Linked DNA regions of Homo sapiens: regions 2 and 3 are each linked to region 1. The links are contacts of gene promoters, found by promoter capture Hi-C in human tissues and cell types (Jung and others, 2019). All regions are on one chromosome and are shown on one strand. The core of a region is centred on a gene start or on the middle of the fragment in contact, and the rest is flanking DNA. Distances in the headings are between cores, read along the strand shown. Region 1 holds the start of CTAGE1 (cutaneous T cell lymphoma-associated antigen 1). Region 2 has its middle 97 kb from the start of CTAGE1. Region 3 has its middle 73 kb from the start of CTAGE1.

What was found. The method cuts DNA at HindIII sites, captures the fragments that hold promoters and counts their contacts. A contact is called where the count stands out against the background at its distance.
Region 2: a fragment that was not itself captured here is called in contact with the fragment with the promoter of CTAGE1 in region 1 in 4 of the 25 tissues and cell types used here (IMR-90 fibroblasts, bladder, dorsolateral prefrontal cortex and 1 more).
Region 3: a fragment that was not itself captured here is called in contact with the fragment with the promoter of CTAGE1 in region 1 in 2 of the 25 tissues and cell types used here (dorsolateral prefrontal cortex and mesenchymal stem cells).

Annotation. Positions count from the first base shown.
Region 1 is chr18:22,415,448-22,419,844 of GRCh38, forward strand. CTAGE1 (cutaneous T cell lymphoma-associated antigen 1) reads right to left here and starts at 2,468. Exons shown (of 1, transcript NM_172241.3): 1 at 1-2,468. The coding sequence starts at 2,364. The coding sequence ends at 127. It also overlaps the pseudogene ATP7BP1. The HindIII fragment of the contact is 3,989 bases long and covers 1-3,121 here.
Region 2 is chr18:22,512,517-22,516,913 of GRCh38, forward strand. No RefSeq gene overlaps it. Among named protein-coding and RNA genes, the nearest start is that of CTAGE1, 97 kb to the left of the region's middle. The HindIII fragment of the contact is 5,805 bases long and covers 1-4,397 here.
Region 3 is chr18:22,488,490-22,492,886 of GRCh38, forward strand. No RefSeq gene overlaps it. Among named protein-coding and RNA genes, the nearest start is that of CTAGE1, 73 kb to the left of the region's middle. The HindIII fragment of the contact is 3,708 bases long and covers 249-3,956 here.

The DNA.
Region 1 (4,397 bases), core at 1,218-3,717:
TGAGATCAGTCAAAATTACTTTTGAAGAGGGCAAACATGTTGTTAGGTTTCTTGCTGTCGTTCTGGATGTTCAGCAGCAGGCTCATTTGAAGTCGGACTCAACCCTGATGGAAACTCATTCTACCTTCAGAATGTGGGGGCTGGGGGGAAAAATGCAGGTCTTGGGGGACGGTAAGGAAGAAAACCTCTCGGTAAATAGACATTTCTCATTGCAAATGGAGCACGTGGTGGACCTGGGACATCCCTTGGAGAAAAATAATCTGGAGAAGCTCCAAACACGGTTCCTGGAGGAGGTGGGGGGAAAGGAGGTCCTCTTCTTATGAACGGGCCCCTTGTATCTACTGGAAACAATAAACCTCTGATTGGAGCAAGAGGTGGAGGAACAAAGCCAGGGCCAGTTGCTTCATTTTCAGCGGGGAGAGATGAATCAGGCACCTTTAAATTACCAAGATTATCTTTGGTATCATTTCTACTGGATTCCATTTCTGAAGGCATTGACCCATCCATTTTATCCAAAGAAGGCATATTAAAACTTCTGAGTTCTGCTGGTCCAGAGAGTCTAGCACAATTAGAATAAAATCTGTCTTGCCTTTGTGGAGGGAGAGCTGAATCAGGATATGATTGTCCTGGTGGAGGAAACATCATCCTATAGTCCTGTTCCCACGGAGGTGCCAGGGGCCCAGCGTCAGAAGGAGCCCTGTGAGGATCAGTTAACCTATCACAGCTTGATTCTCCTCTTTCTTTGGTAATCTGATGGTCCGGAGGATTCCCTGGGCCTCTGGAGCCTCTTCCTCCTCCCCGTGGAAGCAAAGGTGAGAGTCTGAGAGGACCTTCCAACAAAGTTGGAGGATAGAGAGAAGCTCTCGTTTCAGATGAAGGCCAACCCAATGGTGAGGGACCATATGGGGAATGCTGTCTGCCAAATGCTGTATTTGGAACATCAAGTCCATAAGGATCTTTTTCTAAAAGTTTTATTTTAAACTCTATTTCAGTTAATTTTTGTCTGTTGTGAGCATTTTCTTTCCTTAAATCATTGAGGTTTCTTTCAGCAGTCCAAGCTGCCGACCAATTATCATGTGCTTTTTTCTCATGGAGAATAATCTTCTTTTGATAAAAATGAATAGTTTTCTCAAATTCTTTAAGATCTTTGGCTCGCTTTCGGTAGGTCTCCAGCTCTTCAGTGGCATGGCTGATCATTTCGTCTACTTTAGAAAGTTTCTCTTCTTTCTCTAACCGGCATTTTTCCTCTACTATTAATTTCCTGTAGAGTTTCATTTCATTTTCTTGATATAATTCAGTCATTACTTTAAGTTTCTGCTGAAGCTTCTGATTCTCACTTTCAAAATGTGTGTTTTCTGACTGCAAAGATGCTTGTTCAGTCTGAAGATTTTTAATATGCTCTGTAAGCTCTTCCTTTGTTTTATCAACTTCAGATAATTGAATATAAATTTGGTTTCTTTCTCCTTCTAAGGTTTTTAAGGAAGCATTTAACTTAGCAGCATGAATCAGTTTCTTCAAAGCTCCTTTTGGAGGATTATCTAAGTAAGCACCATCTTCCGATTCACTGTTCATTTCTAATTCCAAGTTATCATCATCCGTTACATCTTCTTCAAGCATAGCAACCCCATCTTTCATCTTTAGCAAGCGTTCAGTCAGAGTCTTGATGTGATTTTCTTTATCATTTAGAACTTGTTCTGCATGTACTTTGGAGTCTTCAAATGTTCTTTTCTGTTTAATAAGTTCACTCACTTGTTCTTTCCATACTTCAGCTTCTTGCAAAAGCTGTTTCTGGCTTTCCTGAAGTTCAGAATTTTCTTTCCAAGCATCTTGTATTTCTATCTCCAACCGTTCTTCATTCGCTTGAAATCTCTTGAAGGTCATTTTGGCTTCAGCTACTTGTGATTTGAGGGATTTTGACTCATCTTCTAGCGACTGTATCCTTTTGGAAATATCCGCCATCAATTCATTTTGTTCAGAATGTTTAGATTTCTCTTCTTTTAACTCTTTTTCTAGACAGAGTATTTCATGCACAAGTTCAGAATTGAACCTGTTCAGCTTTTCGCAGGTTGCCTCCAAACTTTGTGCTTCTGTTGCCTCCTTCTCAAAGCTGGCATTCTTTAAAGATGACTCTACTTCATAGCCTTCATACTCTTTTTGAACAAGGCTAAATTTTTCAAGTAGTTTACATTTTTCTTCAATTAGTCCAGAAAGTGCCACAGCAAACTTTTTCTCTCTTCTCACATAAAGCCGACTCGTAACTGATCTAAAACTTCTCCACAAGAAGAGAACAGCAAAAAATCCAGCAACAGCTGCACGTATCACCAATTCCCATGGAAAACCATAAGGATGAGAATCGGGTCTCATACCTTCAGTCAGTGCTGCCACAACCCTGCGTAGCAACTCCAGGACCAGCCCCAGGTATGGCTGAGGGTTAGCCCTAGGCTCCTCCGTAGCGCCAAGGCTGCTCTGGCGGTTGCTGCAGTAACCTCGGCCACAACAAACGCTGGAGAAGACGCAGCATTCCGTTTGGAACCTGAATCCCTAACGGGCAACCGGAGCGTACCACTGCGGAGCCGGCTGCGGGGGGAGTTAGGGGACGCGGGCACCCGTAGGCCTCACAGACCCACACTGCCCACCCCGGTACCTTTGTTACACTTTACATCCTGAGGAAGCGCTAAAACCTATATTTTAAAACAGTACCACATGGTGAGAAAGACTCAGGTGACCCAGCATCCCAGCTATGCCCATCCCAAGCTGACACCCTAGCTAAATGTAGCCTTGTGCATGACCCCAGGTGGGGCGGGCAGAAGAACCTCCCAGCTGACAGAATGATAAGGAATAACAAATCATTGTTTTAAGTCACTAAGCTTTGGGGTCATTTGTTATGCAGCAGTAGCTAACTGAAATACCTGCCCCCTTATCCCTTTGGTGTTTCAGTATCTGTGGCTGAAATAATGAATTTGGGTGCTTGACTAAGATTATGCCCTATGGTAAATTCTGATAGGTAATTTTATAGCTAAAATACAAATTTTCTGATTGACCTTTGCTTCATTGAAGAGATATTTATTTAGCTCCTCCCAAATGAGACAGATTATGCTTTTTAGATTAACTTCTTCCAGGAAAGGGCTCACCACTCCCTAGCATGAGCCTCAGCTGTCCCATGTACAACTGAAAAACGCTAATCTCATCCCCAGAAGATCCAGGACTCTTAGAACAGTGCTGGCACATAGAGAGTGATTCTCTTACCTGTCCATCAAACTTACCTGCTCTGTGTCCATTTCTGAAACACTGGCACTCCTTCAACACGGATGACGCCTTGCCCTGCAATAAGTCATCATCTCCCGCCCATGCACATATCTTCAACTCATCTGGAAAGCTTGCTCCTGCAGCAATGGGTATGCCCACTAGGTTATAAATCAGCGCCAGGACCAGTTTGATGCATATCCTCTGGACAGTCATCTTGGAAATATGAATGCTAGCCACCACATCCAGCAAATCATTTTTGATGAGGATGACGTTGGCTGCCTCGATGACCACATCCGTGCCAGTGCCAGTGGCAATGCCCAAGTCTGCCTGGGCCAAGGCCAGGGAATCATTGACCCCGTCCCCCACCATGGCGACTTTCTTCCCTTCATTCAGGAGCTCCTGAACCTTGGTCACCTTGTGTGAAGGCAACACCTCTGCAAAGACTTTGTTGATGCCAACCTGGGTGGCAAAGGCTCTGACTGTCTTCCAGTTGTCCCCCGTGATCAGAATCACGTTCACATGCATGCTTTGCAGCATGTGCACAGCCAGGGCAACCTCCTGCTTGACAGTGTCTGTGACAGCCATCATTCCACAGAGCACACCTCAACAACTTGCACAAGCACCAGCTCCCTTTGCCATCTTCCGCCCGCATATTTGTATAGTTCTTATATTTTCATTATTAAAAGACAACAAGCTGACTGCATTAGAATTTAAAGGCCTCTGGGTGACAAAACCGTTATAAGCAAAATAAGTAACAGATTTGGAAAATATATGCAACATATAAATTGACAAAGGAATAATATTCAGAATATATAAAGAACTAGGCTGGGTGCGGTGGCTCATGTCTATAATCCCAGCACCTTGGGAGGCCAAGGCAAGAGGATCACTTGAAGTCAGGAGTTCAAGGCCAGCCTGACCAACATGGTGAATCCCCGACTCTACTAAAATTACAAAAATGAGCCAGGTGTGGTGGTGGACGCTTGTAATCCCAGCTACCCAAGAGGTTGAGGTAGGAGAATCTCTTGAACCTGGGAGGTGGAGGTTGCAGTCAGCTGAGATTGCACCACTGCACTCCAGCCTGGGCAACAGAGCAAGACTTTGTCTCAAAAGAAAAAACAAAAGAACTACAAATCATTAATAAAAATATAGTT
Region 2 (4,397 bases), core at 848-3,347, 97 kb after region 1:
GTTTAATTAGATCTCATTTATCAATTTTAGCTTTTGTTGCAATTGTTTTTGGTGTTTTTGTCATGAAATCTTTCCCCATGCCTATGCCCTGAATGGTATTGCCTAAGTTGTCTTACAGGGTTTTTATAATTTTGGGGTTTTACATTTATGTCTTTAATCCATCTTGAGTTAATTTTTGTATATGGTGTAAGGAAGAGGTCCAGTTTCAGTCTTCTGCATATGGCTAGCCAGATATTCCAGCACCATTTATGCAATAGGGAATCCTTTCCCCATTGCTTGTTTTTGTCAGGTTTGTTGAAGATCAGATCATTTTAGGTGTGCAGTCTTATTTCTGGGGTCTCTATTCTGTTCCACTGGTCTATGTGTCTGTTCTTGTACAAGTGCCTGCTGTTTTTGTTACTATAGCCCTGTAGCATAGTTTGAAGTCAGGTAGTGTAATGCCTCTAGCTTTGTTCTTTTTGGTTAGGATTGCCTTGGCTATTGAGGCTCTTTTTTGGTTCCACATGAGTTTTAAAATAGTCTTTACTTGTTCTGTGAAGAATGTCAATGGTAGTTTAATGAAAATAGTGTTGAATGTATAAATTGCTTTGGGCAGTATGGCCATTTTACTGATATTGATTCTTCCTATCCATGAGCATGGAAAGGTTTTCTTTGTTCGTGTCATCTCTGATTTCTTTGAACAGAGGTTTGGAGTTCTCCATATAGAGATCTTTCGCCTCCCCAATCAGCCATATTCCTAGGTATATTAATCTTTTTGTGGCAATTGTGAATGGGGGTTCATTCCTGATTTGGCTCTTGGCTTGATGGTTGTCGGTGTATAGGAATGCTAGTGATTTTTGCATATTGATTTTGTATCCTGAGACTTTGCTGAAGTTGTTTATCAGCTTCAGAAGTTTTGGGGCTGAGACAATGAGGTTTTCTAGATATAAGATCATGTCATCTGCAAACAGGGATAGCTTGACCTCCTCTTCCAGTACTATGTTGAATAGGAGTGGTGAGAGAGGGCATCCTTGTCTTTTGCCTGTTTTCAAGGGGAATGCTTCCGGCTTTTGCCCATTTAGTATGGTGTCGGCTGTGGGTTTGTCATAGATGGCTCTTATTATTTTGAGGTATATTTTTTCAATATCCAGCTTATTGGGAGTTTTAAACATAAATGAATGTTGAATTTTATAAAAAATCTTTTCTTCATCTATTAAGATAATCATGTGGTTTTTGTTTTTAGTTCCGTTTATGTGATGAATCACATTTATTGATATGCATATGTTGAATCAACCTTGCATCCCAGAGATGAAGCCTACTTCATTGTGGTGGATGAGTTTTTTGATTGCACCATATTTTCTTTATCCAATCCATCACTGATGGGCACCTGGGTTTATTTCATGTCTTCACTATTGTGAATAATGCTGTAATGAACACACGAGTGCATGTGTCTTTGGTAGAACAATTTATTTTCTTTTGACTATATACCCAGTAATGAGATTGCCCACTTTTTAATGAGATTGATTTTTCTTTCTTGTAAATTTGTTTAAGTTCCTTGTAGATTCTGCATATTAGGCCTTTGTCAGATGGATAGGTTGAAAAAATTTTCTCCCACTCTGTAGGTTGCCTGTTCACTCTGATGATAGTTTCTTTTGCTGTGCAGAAGCTCTTTAGTTTAATTAGATCCCATTTGTCAACTTTTGCTGTTGTTGCAATTACTCTTGGCAATTTCATCATATCCATATTCTGAATTCTACTTCTGTCATTTCAGCCATCTCAGCCTCATCCTGCTTCTGAACCCTTGCTGGAGAGGTGATGCTGTCCTCTAGAGAAAAGAGGGCATGCTGACTTTTTGTGTTTTCAGCATTCTTGCACTGCTTCTTTTTCAAATTTGTGCGGGCTTATTTACCTTCAATCTTTGAGGTTGCTGACCCTTGGATGGAGCGTTTTTTTCTTTTAACAGTCTGGCCACCTTTCCATAGGGCTGTTGTGGTTTGCTGGGGGTCCACTCTAGTCCCTAGTCACCTCGGATTTTCCAGTACCTGGAGGCATCACCAGTGAAGGCTGTGAAACAGCAAAGATGGCAGCCTGCCCCTTCCTTTGGGAGCTCCAACCCAGGGAGGTACGGACCTGTTGCTGGTCCGAACACACCTGTACATGGTGGCTGGAGACCCTGGTTGGGAGGTCTTGCCCAATCAGTCAGGAGGAACGGGATCAGGGTCCCACTTAAAGAAGCAGTCTGGCCATGCTTTCGTTGAGCATCTGTGCTGTGCTGGGGGATCCCTTCCTCCTTCCATCAGTTTGGACACTCCAAAGCCTGCAGGGTGGAATGGCTGAGTTGCCCAAACAGCAAAGTTGGCAGCCTGCCCCTCCCGCTGGGAGCTCTGTCCCAGGGAGAATTCAAATTTCTGTTAGCCAGAGAACACCAGCAGGGGTGGCTGGAGGCCCTGGTTGGGAGGTTCCACCCAGTGAGGAGAAAAGGGATCAGGGATCCAATTAAAGAAGCTTCTGTAGAGCAGCTGTGTTGTGCTGGGGTACTGCTTCTGCCCTGGTCGACTTGGGTTTTCCAAAGCCTTTAGGCTGGAACGGCTAAGTCACCCAAACAGCAAAGATGGCAGCCCACCTGTCCCTCTGGGAGTTCTGTCTCAGGGAGAATTCAAATGTCTGTCAGCTGGAGAAGACTAGTGGAGGTGGCTGGAGGCCCCAGTTGGGAGGTCAAGCCCAGTGAGGAGGAACAGATCCAGGACCCGCTTAAAAATGCAGTGGGGTCAAGTTTGGGTAGAGCAGCTGTGCTGTGCTGGGGGATCTCTTCCTCCCTCCATCAGTTTGGACTCTCCAAAGTTCGTAGGGTGGAATGGCTGAGTCGCCCAAACAGTAAAGATGGTGCTCCCCCCCGCCCCACCCCCAGGGACCTCTGTCCCAGGGAGGCGCAGCACTGCTGCTGGTGGCTGAAATTCCAAGCCAGTGGGTCTTATCCTGTGAGGTGCAATGGAAGTGACTGCTCCACTCCCTGGATTCAGCCTCTTTCTTAGGGTTATGTACGGGGGTCTATTCTCCCGCTTTGCTAGAGTTGCAGTTACTTTTGCTGGGAAGCCGGGAGCCGGAGTATCGAAAGCTCCAGGTCTCCACATATGCCTCAGTGGCTGCTCTGTGAGACTCCACATAGCTCTCTGTGCCGGACTGAAGGCCCTGGTGGAGTGGCTTCTGAGGGGATCTCCTGACCTGAGGGTTGCAAAGATCCGTGGGAGGAGCATGGTTTCCCAGGGTGGCACATTCACTCGCCACTTCCCTGGGCAGGGGAGGTTCCCTTGCCTCCGTGTCACTCCCAGGTGGGCCATCATCCTGCCTTGCTTTTCTCCGTTCTCTTTAAGTTGTTTCCTTTATTAGTTCCAATGCAAGTACCTGGATGTTTCAGTTGAAGGTGCTGCATTTACTCGCCCCTTTCATTCCTCTCTGTGAGAACCATGCACCCTAGCTGCTTCTAGTCGGCCATCTTGGCTGTGCCCTGGATAATTTTTCTTGTTTCCTCTTAGGGGAAGAGGGTTTTCAGGGGTCCTTACTCCACCATTGCAGAAGTTCTGCCTCTTATTTCCCTTCATTTATCATGCAAAAGGCACTATAAAATATATACTCTTTTTGGTACTTGCTTTTTCCCCCAATTTACCAATATATCTTAGAAATAATTCCATATAAGTTTACAGAGATCATTTTAAATTTTTAAACTCCATTTAAAAAACTCCTTTGTGTGAACGTACTGTTATTTATTAAACTAATCTTACATCTATGTGCTTTTAAATTACTTCTTCAAGATAATTTATCTTTAATACTTAAAGTTACATGATGCTAGATGCTGTACTAAGTATCTTTATGCATTATCTGATTTAATCCTCAAATAATAATTATAAATAGTAATAATAATTCCTGAATAATAATTTAAAGTAGATATAGCTGTAGGTGGTATCTTGTTTTACCATGAGAAACTGATGCCTATTGAGATGAAGAAAGCTGCCTAAGGTTACACAGCTAGAAGGTGATGAAACCAGGTCCAGATTTCTCATCTCTCTGACACCAAAGCTCTTGCTGTCACTTACTATGTCACATATTGAAGAAAGCCCTTGATAATCAAAAGCCACCAGCCCTGAGTCCCCGGTTTGGCACTGGAGCAATGCAACTGGAGCAGCTTCAAAGGAAAATAATGCATCATGAGGGTACATTCATGGATCCTCCCGGGTATCAGAAGATTCACCAGAAGACATGGTCTCAAGAAGCAAAAGCCAAAGCAGGAGAGAAGAAATTGAAGCTGCTAATAAGTGATGTTTGTGTGCACCCTTGGAAAAAATCCTGATAATGATTCTAGTAAAACCTTAGTAAATTTTCATGAAAGAGGCCAAAGTAGAGTATTATCCTAAGAATTGAGA
Region 3 (4,397 bases), core at 853-3,352, 73 kb after region 1:
GAAACCACTCCCATGGTAAAACTTTTTGTAAAAAGAGACATTATTCTCTAATTCTAAATCTACATTGGATTTTCTTAAAGGAAAGTTCAACTGTAATTATTTTCCTGGAGAGGAAAAGTGATGTCAAGCCACCCTGATGAGAGCCTGGTGTGGGAACAGCTTGTCTGGCCTCTTGGGATCTCTGGGGAAAGTAGACGGAGATGAGGAATAGACACGTATTCCAGAACTGGACTTCGAATGGGCCTTTGGCCAAACTTGGCCCAATTTCTCAACAGAGAGAAAGCACTGACCCAAGCTGAAGACTGATTCACAGCCAACCTGCTTTGGACACGTTGTCCTCTGCCAGGCAAGCCAGCGCCCTATCCCTGAGGCACTTGCTGGCCAGGGGAAGGAAATGCTGGGAGAGGAAGCCTTGCTCTTTCCCCCTTTGCTGCATAGTTCCAGCTTTTGTGCAGCTCTCATGTTTGGGGATAGGGGAGGAAGGGAGAAGACTGGGAAGTGGGAGGAGGGGGACAAGGCCACCCATGAAGATGCAGGGAAAGCCAGCAAAGGCCAGGAGGGAGTCATTGCAGAAGAAGAGAATAATGTGAATGAACTTGGGGACAAAGGGGAAATAAGGAAGGGGTTCAGGGAAACCTCACAAACTAGATGGAAAAGAAAGAGGAAGGGGAAATTCCCAGGATAGAAAGTAAACCAGGAAGAGACGAAGAGGAGGGCTTCTCCAGGTGTGACCCACACCCCAAATTCAAACATTCTTGATTTAGAAAAATGTCCTGTGATTCATTCTCCAATGGGAAGTCCACTGTGTAGAAATTTTCTTTAACAATTTCTTCTTGACATGCTCCTGGAATTATAAGGAATTTGGGCATGAGAGCTCCTTTTCCAAAAAGATTCATGAGAGGACTTCTTCCTCGGTGCTGACTGCATTTGGAAGAGCAGTTGAATTAGGAATGGCTTGCAAAAATGTTAGTAGGGATGGAAGAGAGTGTTGGAGACGAGGAGTGATTAATATTCAAAATTCAGGTTTGTGTTCAATTTTGAAGTCACTGTTTTAGTTTTGATATCAATGTAAGGAGTGTAAGACCTGTGTAAATGGGATATCAGGTTAAAAAATCCAGCCTGCTCCATCCTGAGGAGAGCACAAATACATGGGACTCACAGATAATTCAAATGTTGACTTCACTACTCCAGCTGTCAAAGCAGTTCTGAGCGAGAACAAGACTGTTTGTAGGAACTCTAGTTCTTTTGCATTACCTGTCTTCCTGGAGGTAGAATCATCAGGAAGAAGAAACCAAGAGGAGCAGAATCAGATGGGTGAAGTAACCCGTGCATTATGTAAACAATCTTTGGCCCATAACCTAGGGTGAGCCAACATATTAATATTTAACTACTAACTCACAGGATCAACCAATCAGATTTGGCCCTGGACATAGCCCCAATCAGCCCTGGAGATAACATTCCCATGGCAACACTAATGCATTCTTCACTGAATGGTTGGCAACACTAATGCACTTACTCATTTAAGATTCTTTGTTTAATGTATGTCTTCCCCTCCAGACTGTAAGCCTATTGAAGGGTTTCCCTAGCATGTTGTGGGTGCTCAATAAATAACTATTGTCTGACGGCAAATACCACACCCCTGAGCCATATGGAAGACATCTCCCCTCATGGTGTTGTGGCTAATTCAGAAGTGGCATAGAGTCATGAAAAAGTGCTTCACATCAGGACAGCAGCTCAGCTCCTGACCTGGTTCTGCTTTTCTCTCACTGTGTGACTTTGGACAAGTCATCTCCTCTCCCTCTACCTCTGACTCCTTTGCTATGAAATGACAGGATTGGATTTGATGATCTCTGAGGCCGATTTCAGCTCTAATACTCAGTGGTTCAGCACACCCATAAAGTGCACAGCAGAGGTTTGTTTGTGACCAAAACAGAATGTTAGGAACTGAAAAAACTGCCAAAGACCACTTTAGAGGAAAAGTGGAAACAAGGTTTTGTGTGAAATATGCTTGGCTTGCACAATGCAAGTGATTCTTTTGTGAGAGCGGAAGGCCATAGGGTGTGATTACTTTATCTGCCACTAAGCTTCCTGGGCAGCCCAGGCCAAGCTAAAGATACCTATCACTCTTGTTCAAGGTCCGTTTCCTACTGAGTTGTCACACTGTTGAATTATTGTTGAGTTGAAGTCCAAAAGGGGAAATATTTTGCAATCTAGAGTTGGACCCTGGAGCTATACAACTATGATTACTGATACAGATTTTCCCAGAAAATCTCAGTGCACCGAGGTCATACCAAGGAGCCCTCATACTTCTGTATGCTACTGTCAGCTTACTCTGCTGGTGGTGCTGAAGTTCCGTGAACATTTTCCCCAATGAGCAAGTAAAAACATTTCATTTTGCCTCTTCCTGAACCATTTTTTTAAAAGTTTTTATATGGAATAAATCTTTACATTAAAAAAGATACACAATAGCATTTACTTTTAAAAATAAAATTTAAAATATGATGTGTATATTTAAGGTATACAACATTATGTTATGGGATACATATAGATAGTAAAAAGGTTACTATAATAAAACAAATATATTCAGCATCTCACAGAGTTATCCCCATTGCCCTGCCCCTTTGTTTGGTAAGAGCAGCTAAAATCTACTCATTTAACAGGACTCCTAAATGCATAAAATTTTATTAATTACAGTCCTCCTGTACATTAGAGCTCTAGGCTTATTCATTCTAATATATGCTACTTGATAACCTCTGACCTACATCTTCCCATTTGTTCCCCTTTTCCCTAACCCCTGGTAACTACTGTTTTATTCTCTGTGTTTGTATATTTGACTTTAATTTTGGTTTAGATTCTACATACAAGTGATATCATAAAATGTTTTTCTTTCTATGCCTGGCTTACTTCATCTAGTGTAATATCCTCCAGTTCCATCCAAGTTGTGGCAAATGGCAGGATTTCCTTTTTTAAGGCTGAATAACATTCTATTGGATGGATAGCTAGATGATGATAGATAGATAGATAGATAGATAGATAGATAGATAGATAGATAAAGAGTGTCCTGTGTACTGAGTCAGAGGACACATATATCTGTTTCTTTATCCATTTGTCCATTGATGGACACTTAGGTTGTTCCCATATCTTGACTATTGTGAATAATGCTGCAACAAACATGGGTGTGCAGATATCTTTATGAGGTGGTGATTTCATCTCCTTGGGTATATAATCAGAAGAGGGATTACTATGTTAAATGGTCATTCTATTTTTAATCAATTTTTTTGAGACAGGGTTTCACTTCATTGCTCAGGCTGGAGTGCAGTGGCATGATCATGGCTACTGTAGCCTCAACCTCCCATGCTCAAGTCATCCTCCCACCTCAGCCTCCCAAGTAGCTAAGACTACAGACATGTGCCACCATGCTGGGCTAATTTTTTAGTTTTTTGTAGAGATGTGAACTCACCATGTGGCTTAGGTTTTTCTTAATTTGTCTAGGAACCTCCATATTGTTTTCCATAATGCTTGCGCCAATCTACATTTCCACCAACAATGTACAATTTTTCCCTTTTCTCCACACCCTTGCTGACATTTTTTATCTCTTGACTTTTATGATTATCATCCTAATGGACATGAGGTGAAATAAGCTTTTAAAAAAACCTTTTTTTATGTAGCTCTGTTTAAAAAGCACTTTAGGAAGAAGGACATATTTGTCTGCACAAAAAGAGTATCCTGTGTACTGAGTCAAAGGATGACAAGCCCATAGCTCCTTGAATCTTAACACAGATGCTACTATGACTATTAGCTTTTAAACTCCTGCCATCCTCAGAGAGCCTATGATAGTGATGAAGAAAGAATTATATAACATGACGGGTTCAAAGATCCCAGGACAGGTATCAAAACCCCAGCTTCCAAACCAGTTGCGTGTATTCCTCTGAGCAAATCCCGGCCTCTCTGAGCCACTGTTGACTCCCATGTGAACCGTTCATCCAGGTGCCCAGAAGCTCTGCGTTCTGTGGAGCCTTAGAAGTCCAGGTGGGAGGCAGGTGGAAAGAGAGAAGGACCAAGAGACAGACGGGGGTTCCGTGTCCCTGGAGCCAGAGCTCTACTTTTGTCTTTTATACGTGTCCGAGGTCTGCTAAAATGTCACTGAAGAAAAGATTATGCTGTCTATAAAGAGTTTGAAAGCACAGGATTAGATGACCCCTAAAGACACTCTTAGTTCTTTAAAAAAAAAAAAAAAAGTCCTCTGGGTTCATGTTCACATAAACTCACAAGCTTAGGTACACACACACAAACACACACTCTCATGCTTACACACACCCTCCACTATAAAAACAAACAAGATTGATTAACATTTCATGAATCGTGCTGAAAAGTTAATTCAGATGTCCTTCTCTCTG